Linked DNA regions of Homo sapiens: region 2 is linked to region 1. The links are contacts of gene promoters, found by promoter capture Hi-C in blood cells and fetal thymus (Javierre and others, 2016). All regions are on one chromosome and are shown on one strand. Each heading gives the region's core, a stretch centred on a gene start or on the middle of the fragment in contact. The rest is flanking DNA. Distances are from core to core; before and after follow the strand shown. Region 1 holds the start of KCTD11 (potassium channel tetramerization domain containing 11). Region 2 overlaps LOC105371512 (a long non-coding RNA gene).

The links. The method cuts DNA at HindIII sites, captures the fragments that hold promoters and counts their contacts. A CHiCAGO score of 5 or more calls a contact.
Region 2: a fragment that was not itself captured here is called in contact with the fragment with the promoter of KCTD11 in region 1 in 3 of 17 cell types (M0 macrophages, M2 macrophages and naive B cells); the score reaches 8.1 in M0 macrophages.

What each region holds. Positions count from the first base shown.
Region 1 is chr17:7,349,960-7,353,843 of GRCh38, reverse strand. KCTD11 (potassium channel tetramerization domain containing 11) reads right to left here and starts at 1,682. Exons shown (of 1, transcript NM_001363642.1): 1 at 1-1,682. The coding sequence starts at 1,018. The coding sequence ends at 203. It overlaps ACAP1 (ArfGAP with coiled-coil, ankyrin repeat and PH domains 1), which reads right to left. Exons shown (of 22, transcript NM_014716.4): 19 at 3,790-3,884; 20 at 3,607-3,717; 21 at 2,845-2,894; 22 at 2,367-2,549. The coding sequence ends at 2,449. RefSeq lists silencers at 1,604-2,373, 2,424-2,483, 2,554-2,613, 3,494-3,633 and an enhancer at 3,884. The HindIII fragment of the contact is 3,784 bases long and covers 320-3,884 here.
Region 2 is chr17:7,137,769-7,141,425 of GRCh38, reverse strand. LOC105371512 (a long non-coding RNA gene) reads right to left here. Exons shown (of 3, transcript XR_934191.3): 2 at 3,628-3,657; 3 at 663-748. It also overlaps the pseudogene RPL7AP64. Among named protein-coding and RNA genes, the nearest start is that of ASGR2, 25 kb to the right of the region's middle. The HindIII fragment of the contact is 880 bases long and covers 1,713-2,592 here.

The DNA of each region.
Region 1 (3,884 bases), core at 433-2,932:
GTCAGCACAGGTTGAGACCTTCTGGACCACTTGTGAGTCCTTGGTGGGCTCAGGTTTGGGAATTCCTGCCCACATCTGAGCTCCAGTCAGGTGCAGGAGAGTCCCGACTCTCATAGCTCCTGAAGCAGAGCTGGAAAGAGGCTTCAGGGGTGCTAGTACCCCATTCTCTCTCCTCCCCACAGTCAAACTGAGAACAGCATCCTCAGTGCCGGACAAAGCGCAGAGACCTGGAGTTGAGCAGGTCTTCGGGGTCGGGGAAGACAGAGTCTAGTCGGAAGCCGTGCTCGAGAGCCACCCGCAGCACCTCCTCCAGGAAGCTTGGGGTGCCCACCACCTCCCGCCGCTCTCCTGGCCCCCCAGTCCACAGCGGCTGCAGCCCCAGTCTCCCATACTCCACCTCGGGGAGTTCCACGGGGCGGGGGGCCCACTCCAGATGAAAATGTGGGCTCCCCTCTGCCCTATCCCCACTGGCCACACCAAATCGGGCCCGCAAAGCACCTAGACACTCAGAGTCGGTGCAGAAAAGGTTGGCTCGGAAGGTGTCCACCTGGACGGAGCTCAGCTCATAGTGATGGGGTCCCCGGCGAGCAGAGAAGTGCACCAGGCGGGGGCTGACATCTACATCTGCGTGGAGCAGGGCAGCTGTGGGTGCAGGGGTCCCCTGAGAGGCCTCCAGTTCCCGCAGCGCGTCCAGGAGGGGCCGGATCTGGTAGAAGTCAGCCTCTGCCCTGAGCAGCGCTGTCTCTCCGTACCCACGGGGCAGGTCCAGGCGGCCCAGCCTCAGGAAATTGAGGATGTGCCGGAAGGCCTTGCCATCCCGGTCGATGAAGTAGTGGCCGCCTCCTTGGGAATTGAGGTTGGGGGGCATGGGGGTGCCGGCCCTAAACATGGCCCCCAGCATAGAGTCTGGGAAGCGGGTCAGGGTCTCCAAAGTGGTGGAATATAGTGTGCCCCCCACATTCAGGGTCACGGGGCCCCCAAAGGAGGGGGGCGAAGAGGGCACAGGAGGAGGAGAAATTTTGGGAAGTACAGGAGACACCGAAAGAAAAGAAAAGGCAGAACTTCCTGGGTGTGTGCAGAATTGGGTCGAAGCTGTCAGATTCGCTGGGTTGGAGGCACAGGTGGAGCACACCCAGTAAGGTTTGGGGCTCACCCCGGCTACTTTGGTGGTGGATGGGGAGGTGGTGTCAGGACACAGAAATCCCCAAAAGGTTGAGAGAAGAGATGAAAAGAGCAGAGGGCAGCCAGAGAGGGGAAGGGAGCTTGAGGTCTGGACGTATCCGATTTGGGGTGGTCAGCGACACCCCTCTGTGGTCTTCAGACAGTGGGTTTCCGGAATCCAACCAGCAGGTGACGGTGGCGAGCACAGGGCCGACTCTGAAGGGATGGCCTCCGAGACCCCGGGCAGATCGCTGCCGCCGTGGACGAGTCCAGCCAGGGCTCTGGGGCCACTCAGAGGCCTGGCCTGGCTGCCGGCGCGGGTCCCAGGAGATGGAGGCCGAACTGACGGGAGCGGATGGCGGAGCCCCCTTGTATCCGCCGGGGAGCGACGATGCGTGCTCAGCCCGGGCTGGGAGTGTCCGAGGGCTCTGATGGAAACAGCCAGGAGTTTCGGGACCCGGCCGCGCCGCCTTCCCTGGGTGTCGCCGCAGCCGCTGAGGTCCTCTCCGCCCCCAGGAAGTGGCCTAAGGGCAGCGGCCCGGGGCCCTTTAAGAGACAGCCCCGCCCCTTGGCGCCCCGCCCCCGCCCCCGCGAGGCTCGCGCGGCCCGGGCGGAGGTGGGAGGCTGGAGGCGAGTCTCGGACGCGAGAGACTGGGCGGACTGGCTGGACTGGCAGACGCTGGCGGGACGGGGTGACTCAGGCACGTCGCCCCGGATGTGGCCACGACCGCCCCGCCGCCGCTCAGGTGTGCCCGATCTCACGTCTGCAAGTCGGCGGGGCTGGAGCCTCTAATCCCACCGCTCAGAGCCCGAGGCCCGGCCGGCCCAGCCCGGGAGCCGAGTCCCTCCCAGCGGCTCCCCCGGGGAATTCCCGAGGGGGCGGGTGCTGAGCCGCCGCATTCCGGGGATGCCTTCCAGCCGGGGTGGCCCGGGCGCGCTCTCTCCGCGGCGGCGCGGGGCCAGCGAGCCCCAGGGCCAGCCCCACCCCTCGGCAGGACTGGGCTGGCCACGTCGCCCCAGCCCGAGAGCCCCCGCCCCGCAGCGCCCTGCGCTCAGGCCGCGGCCGAAGCTGCCGCCTCGCTCCCCGGAGTCGCACCTTGCTGGACTGGAGCTCGCAAACCCCCAGCTGCTCCCCGCACCTCGGGAGCCGCAGCGCCCAACACCCTACGGGCCCGAAGGTGGCGCCCAAGAAGTGAACCAGAAGGGAAGAGCGAAGCACGGAGGCTTTAATGGCAGAGGGCCCGGTGGCGGGGAAGGGAGGCAGGCGCGGGCCCCGTGGGCCTCGGGTCACAGCGTGTGGAGGTCATGACTGCGACGGCTCAGCTTCTCCGGGTCGTCTGACGCCATGAGGGAGAAGTCGCGGAAGATGTCAAGATACGTCTCATCTCCTGGGGGAGGGAGGAAAGGCCGGGAGGCGGCTGGGCCCCAGTGCAGAAGGGCAGGATCCGGCGGTTGGGGCCCACCTGGGGACCTCGCGCTCCGAGCCTGGGTGGGAACGTGCGCGCCGCGGGCACTGCGCCAGCACCTATGCCTTGCCAGGGCCTGGCACGTCGCATGCGCCCAATACGCATTTGTTAAATAACGGAATGAATGCAGCTGGGCACTAGGGAGAGAGGTCACCGTGGACCAGAAGCCCAGAGTTCAGGTGTTGGGCCTGGGGGGTGGGGTGGGTGTATTCTTTACCTGCCTGCCCCTGGGCCGCTTCAGCCTCCCTCATCTTTGCCAGTCGTAGCCTGAAGAGGAGGGAATTAAGAAATGAACGACACTATCTTTGGCCGGGCGCGGTGGCTCACGCCTGTAATCCCAACACTTTGGGAGGCCGAGGCAGGCGGATCACGAGGTCAGGAGATCGAGACCGTCCTGGCCAACATGGTGAAACCCCGTCTCTACTAAAAATACAAAAAATTAGCCGGGGGTGGTGGCGCACGCCTGTAGTCCCAGCTACTCAGGGGAGGCTGAGACAGGAGAATCGCTTGAACCCGGGAGGCGGGGGTTGCAGTGAGCCGAGATCGCGCCCCTGCACTCTAGCCTGGGCGACAGAGTGAGACTCCGTCTCAAAAAAAAAAAAAAAGACTATCCTCACCTCCCCCACAACTTCCCATCCTTTGAGCTGGGTTGCGTTCCGTTCATCTGCCCCCACCCCCGGGGTCACGTCTAGTGCTAAAAAGATGCCTGACAGCAATGTTGATGGGCGAATTACGCCTCTCAGGGTGGGCCAAGCATCCTTGCACCCTGCCCGCCCTCCCGCCTGCCTTCTACTCCACGTCCCAGTGCACACTTCGCGCAGCCTTTCTCGAGCCTGGCCCCGGCGCTGGCCCAGCCCCTTTCCGAGGCCCCACAGCACAGGCTTCTGTTTCGGCGTCAGCCCCGCCCGCCCGCCCGAACGTGGGTGGGCGGGGGTGGGGGGAGTCCCAGCGCCAGCCCCGCCCCTTCAGGCATTCTTACAGGGTGACGATGTCAGCGTTGGCTGTTTCCATGGCGATGGTCAGAGGGTCCCTGCCTTCAGAGTCTCGAGCCCCCAGATCAGCTCCCCGTTTCAGGAACAGGCAGGCGAGCCTGGAGAGAAGAGCCAGGGTCAGCCGGCCGCCCAACTTCTCCCAGCCTTCCTCCCCATGCCATCATCCCTACCCCGTGTGGCCAAGAATGGTTGCGTGGTGCAGCGGGCCCCGGCCCGCACTGTCCGCTTGGTTCACGTTCGCCCCGTTCTGGAGGAGAAACTCACA
Region 2 (3,657 bases), core at 903-3,402, 210 kb after region 1:
CCTGGATAACGCAGTAAGGGAACCCCACTGTAGGACACAGCGCAGACAGAGAGACAGCAAGCTCGACGAGAGTCACGTGCAGTCACCACCAGCTGAGGCTTCTTGTTCTCCACCAAGGTGCTGTCGGGGTTAACCCTGCTCGTGGGACAGTTGGGGTCTTCATGGAGATGCCCCCTTTGCCGGCAGCTTTCTTCTCTGCACGGGCCAATAGCCTCTGCTTCTTTTCTTGCCCTGTCTCTGGTCTGTACCATGGTCCAGCTGATGCAGTTGAGGAGCTGTTTTCTCGGTCCAAGGCCTGGATGAGTCGGTCACTTGCAGGAGGCACTTTCAGCTGCTCGTGGAGGTCAGCCGTTTGCCACTGCAACCAGATGTAGTTGGGCCATTCAACAATCAACAAAGCAGGTGAGGTCCCTTTTGGGCTGGATAGCCTGTTCAATGCCAGATTCTTAAGCCTTTTCTCAAATGCCGAAATTCTTTTTTTTTTTTTTTTTTTTTTGAGACGGAGTCTCACTCTGTTGCCCAGGCTGGAGTGCGGTGGCGCGATCTTGGCTCACTTCAACCTCTGCCTGCTGGGTTCAAGCAATGAGCAATGAGCCACTGTGCCCGGCCTCGACTGCCTTCTTATTTCTGCGATTGCCACCAGATGCTGCTGCTGCAAACAAGTCCCGCTCAGCCAGAGGCCACCCCTGCCGTGGCTGCGCTGTAGTCACCGTGGATCTGGCTATAGTTTGATGCAGTAATACGGGAGCTAAAAAGAAATTACTTAGGCAGTTGGTGAGGGTAAGAGAGTCCTCGGTAAGGCATCCCTTTTAACAAAAAGCAGCCCCCACATCATTTCTTTTCTAACAAAGAGCAGCCTGTAAAATCGAGCTGCAGACATTGACAGGCAAGCTGGAAGCTTGAACGGGTGAATGGCGGCAGCCGTGCCAATCGGAAAAGGCTACCTGGGGCCAGGCATGTTCAACATGGAGGCTTCATCTTCCCTTTTCCTTATCAACCACCTGTACAGTAAAGGAAGCAGCAACATGATGCCAACCAGGTAGAGAATCCATTTGCATAATAAAAGATTAGGGTGGGGCGGCCAGCTTCTTCTTGCACTATGTAAATGGCATACCTGGTCCCGCAATCTTTTGGGCTCTGTGTAAATCAGACACTGCCTGGCCGGGTGGGTGCGGCGGCTCTCGCCTATAATCCCAGCACTTTGGGAGGCTGAGCCGGGTGGATCACCTGATGTCAGGAGTTTGAGACCAGCCTGACCAACATGGTGAAACCCCGTCTCTACTAAAAATACAAAAATTAGCCGGGCGTGGTGTGCATGCCTGTAATTCCAGCTACTCGGGAGGCTGAGGCAGGAGAATCCCTTGAACCTGGGAGGCAGAGGTTGCGGTGAGCCGAGATCGTGCCACTGCACTCCAGCCTGGGCAACAAGAGCGAAACTCTGTCTCAAAAACAAAACAAAACAAAACAAGGCAAAACCTCCAAATCAGACACTGCCTCCTCAAGCTCACCTATAACACCCAGTGCATTTCACCTCGGAGCCAGAAGACCGACTTGGGAGCCCCTCCCTCTCTGCAGGAGAGAGAGCTTTTCTTTCTCTTGCCTATTAAACCTCTGCTCTTAAACTCACTCGTCGTGTGTGCCTGCATCCTCAATTTCCTTGGCATGAGACGATGAACCTTGGGTATTACCTCAGACAACGAGCTTCAAAAGCTTAATGGAACAGACCGTCTACCCCTGTTGTGCCCTGCTTAGCTCTGTCCCGGAAGCCACTAGGCACCTAGGCTGTGACAGTTTCAGTCTTTAACCCCCAATGACAGCTTGCTCAGGGCACACCCAGTCCCTCCTTAGTGCTGCTGAGCAACTGCACCGTGTCCTCGGGCTCCAGAGGAAAAAACACTTCAGTTCATAGCCCTGCTCAGCAGAGGTCCTCAAAGCACATCTTCTCAGCCTCTATCTGGTGAGGGGGCACCTTCAGCCTGTGCCAAACGCGGCTTCCCTCACAAACCCTACCAGGCCTTAGCACTGATACAGGATTCTAGGGACTGAATGTTTCTGTCCTCCCCACCCCGGATTCATAGGTGGAAGCCCTACTCCACAGTGTGATGATATTTGGAGGTGGGGCCTTTGGGAGATAATTACATTTAGATGAGGTTGTGAGGGTGGGGTCCCCACGATAGGATTTGTGCCCTTGTTGGAAGAGAAGGAGGCCAGAGTGTGCTCTCTCATCCACGTGAGGACACAGCAAGAAGGTGGCTGTCTGTAAACCAGGAAGTGAGCCCTCCCCAGACACTGGATCTGCCGGTACCTTCACCTTGGGCTTCCTAGCCTCCAGAACTGTGAGAAAGAAATGTTTTTTTTTTGTTTAAGCCATTCAGTCCGTGGTGTTTTGCAATGGCAGTGCAAGCTGACTAAGACACAGGGTCACTTGTTCTATTTCCTCTTCAGTCATGATGGGCTTCCCTCGGGCCCTTTGGTGCCTTTCCCCGTCAGTGGACTTCAGCTAGAGCCTCTGTTCATCACAGAGGTTCTAAGGACATTAGATCTCCAAAAGAAAGGGACTAGGGTCTCAAATTTCTTTGCTTCACAGAAGCTTTTTGGCCCCACCTTTCAGTGACCTGTCTGCAAACCAAAACTGGCAAAGAAGGGCAGTCTCCCCTGAGCCACTGGAGAAGTCCTGCCTCCCCTGCCTGGGGTAGGCGACGGCTGGCTTCCCACTTAAACAGTTAAGGGGAGCTGCTCAGTGCTTACAAAGTCATTTGCTAACTTGCCTAGACAAAGAAGTTATTAGTAACTTTTACATGTCAGCTTGGGTAAACAAAACAAGTTTAAGTTCCTGTAATCAGGCAGCATGTTTTTATTATTATTATTATTATTTTATTATTTGAGATGAAGTATTGCTCTGTCGCCCAGGCTGGAGTGCAGCGGTGCAATCTCGGCTCACCACAAGCTCCGCCTCTCAGGTGCACACCATTCTCCTGTCTCGGCCTCCGGAGTAGCTGGGACTACCGGCGTCCGCCACCACGCCCGGCTAATTTTTTTGTATTTTTAGTAGAGACGGGGTGTTTCACCGTGTTAGCCTGGATGGTCTCCATCTGCTGACTTCGTGATCTGCCCACCTCAGCCTCCCAAAGTGCTGGGATTACAGGCGTGAGCCACCGCGCCTGGCCACCATGTTTTATTATTAAAAGTTAATGGGGGCCGGGCATGGTGGCTCACGCCTGTAATCCCAGCACTTTGGGAGGTCGAAGCGGGCGCATCACCTGAGGTCAGGAGTTCGAGACCAGCCTGGCCAACGTGGTGAAACTCTGTCTCTACTAAAAACACCAAAATTAGCCGGGCATGGTGGTGGGTGCCTGTGGTCCCAGCTACTTGGAAGGCTGAGGGGGAAGAACTGCTTGCACTTGGAAAGCAGAGATTACAGTGAGCCAACATCGCGCCATTGCACTCCAGCCTGGGCGACAGAGTGAAACTCCATCTCAAAAACAAAACAAAAAAAGTTAATGGGAAGAAAAGCTATAGCCAGCAAAGGTCACAGGCAGGCTGGGTGGCTATGAGACCCCTCAGAGAGGCTGGGGCTGGGAAGGGGTGTAGGGAGGGTAGATTACATTCAGACTGACTCATGCTTACCTCAGGCTGTGAGATCCCAGCCCTCTGGGC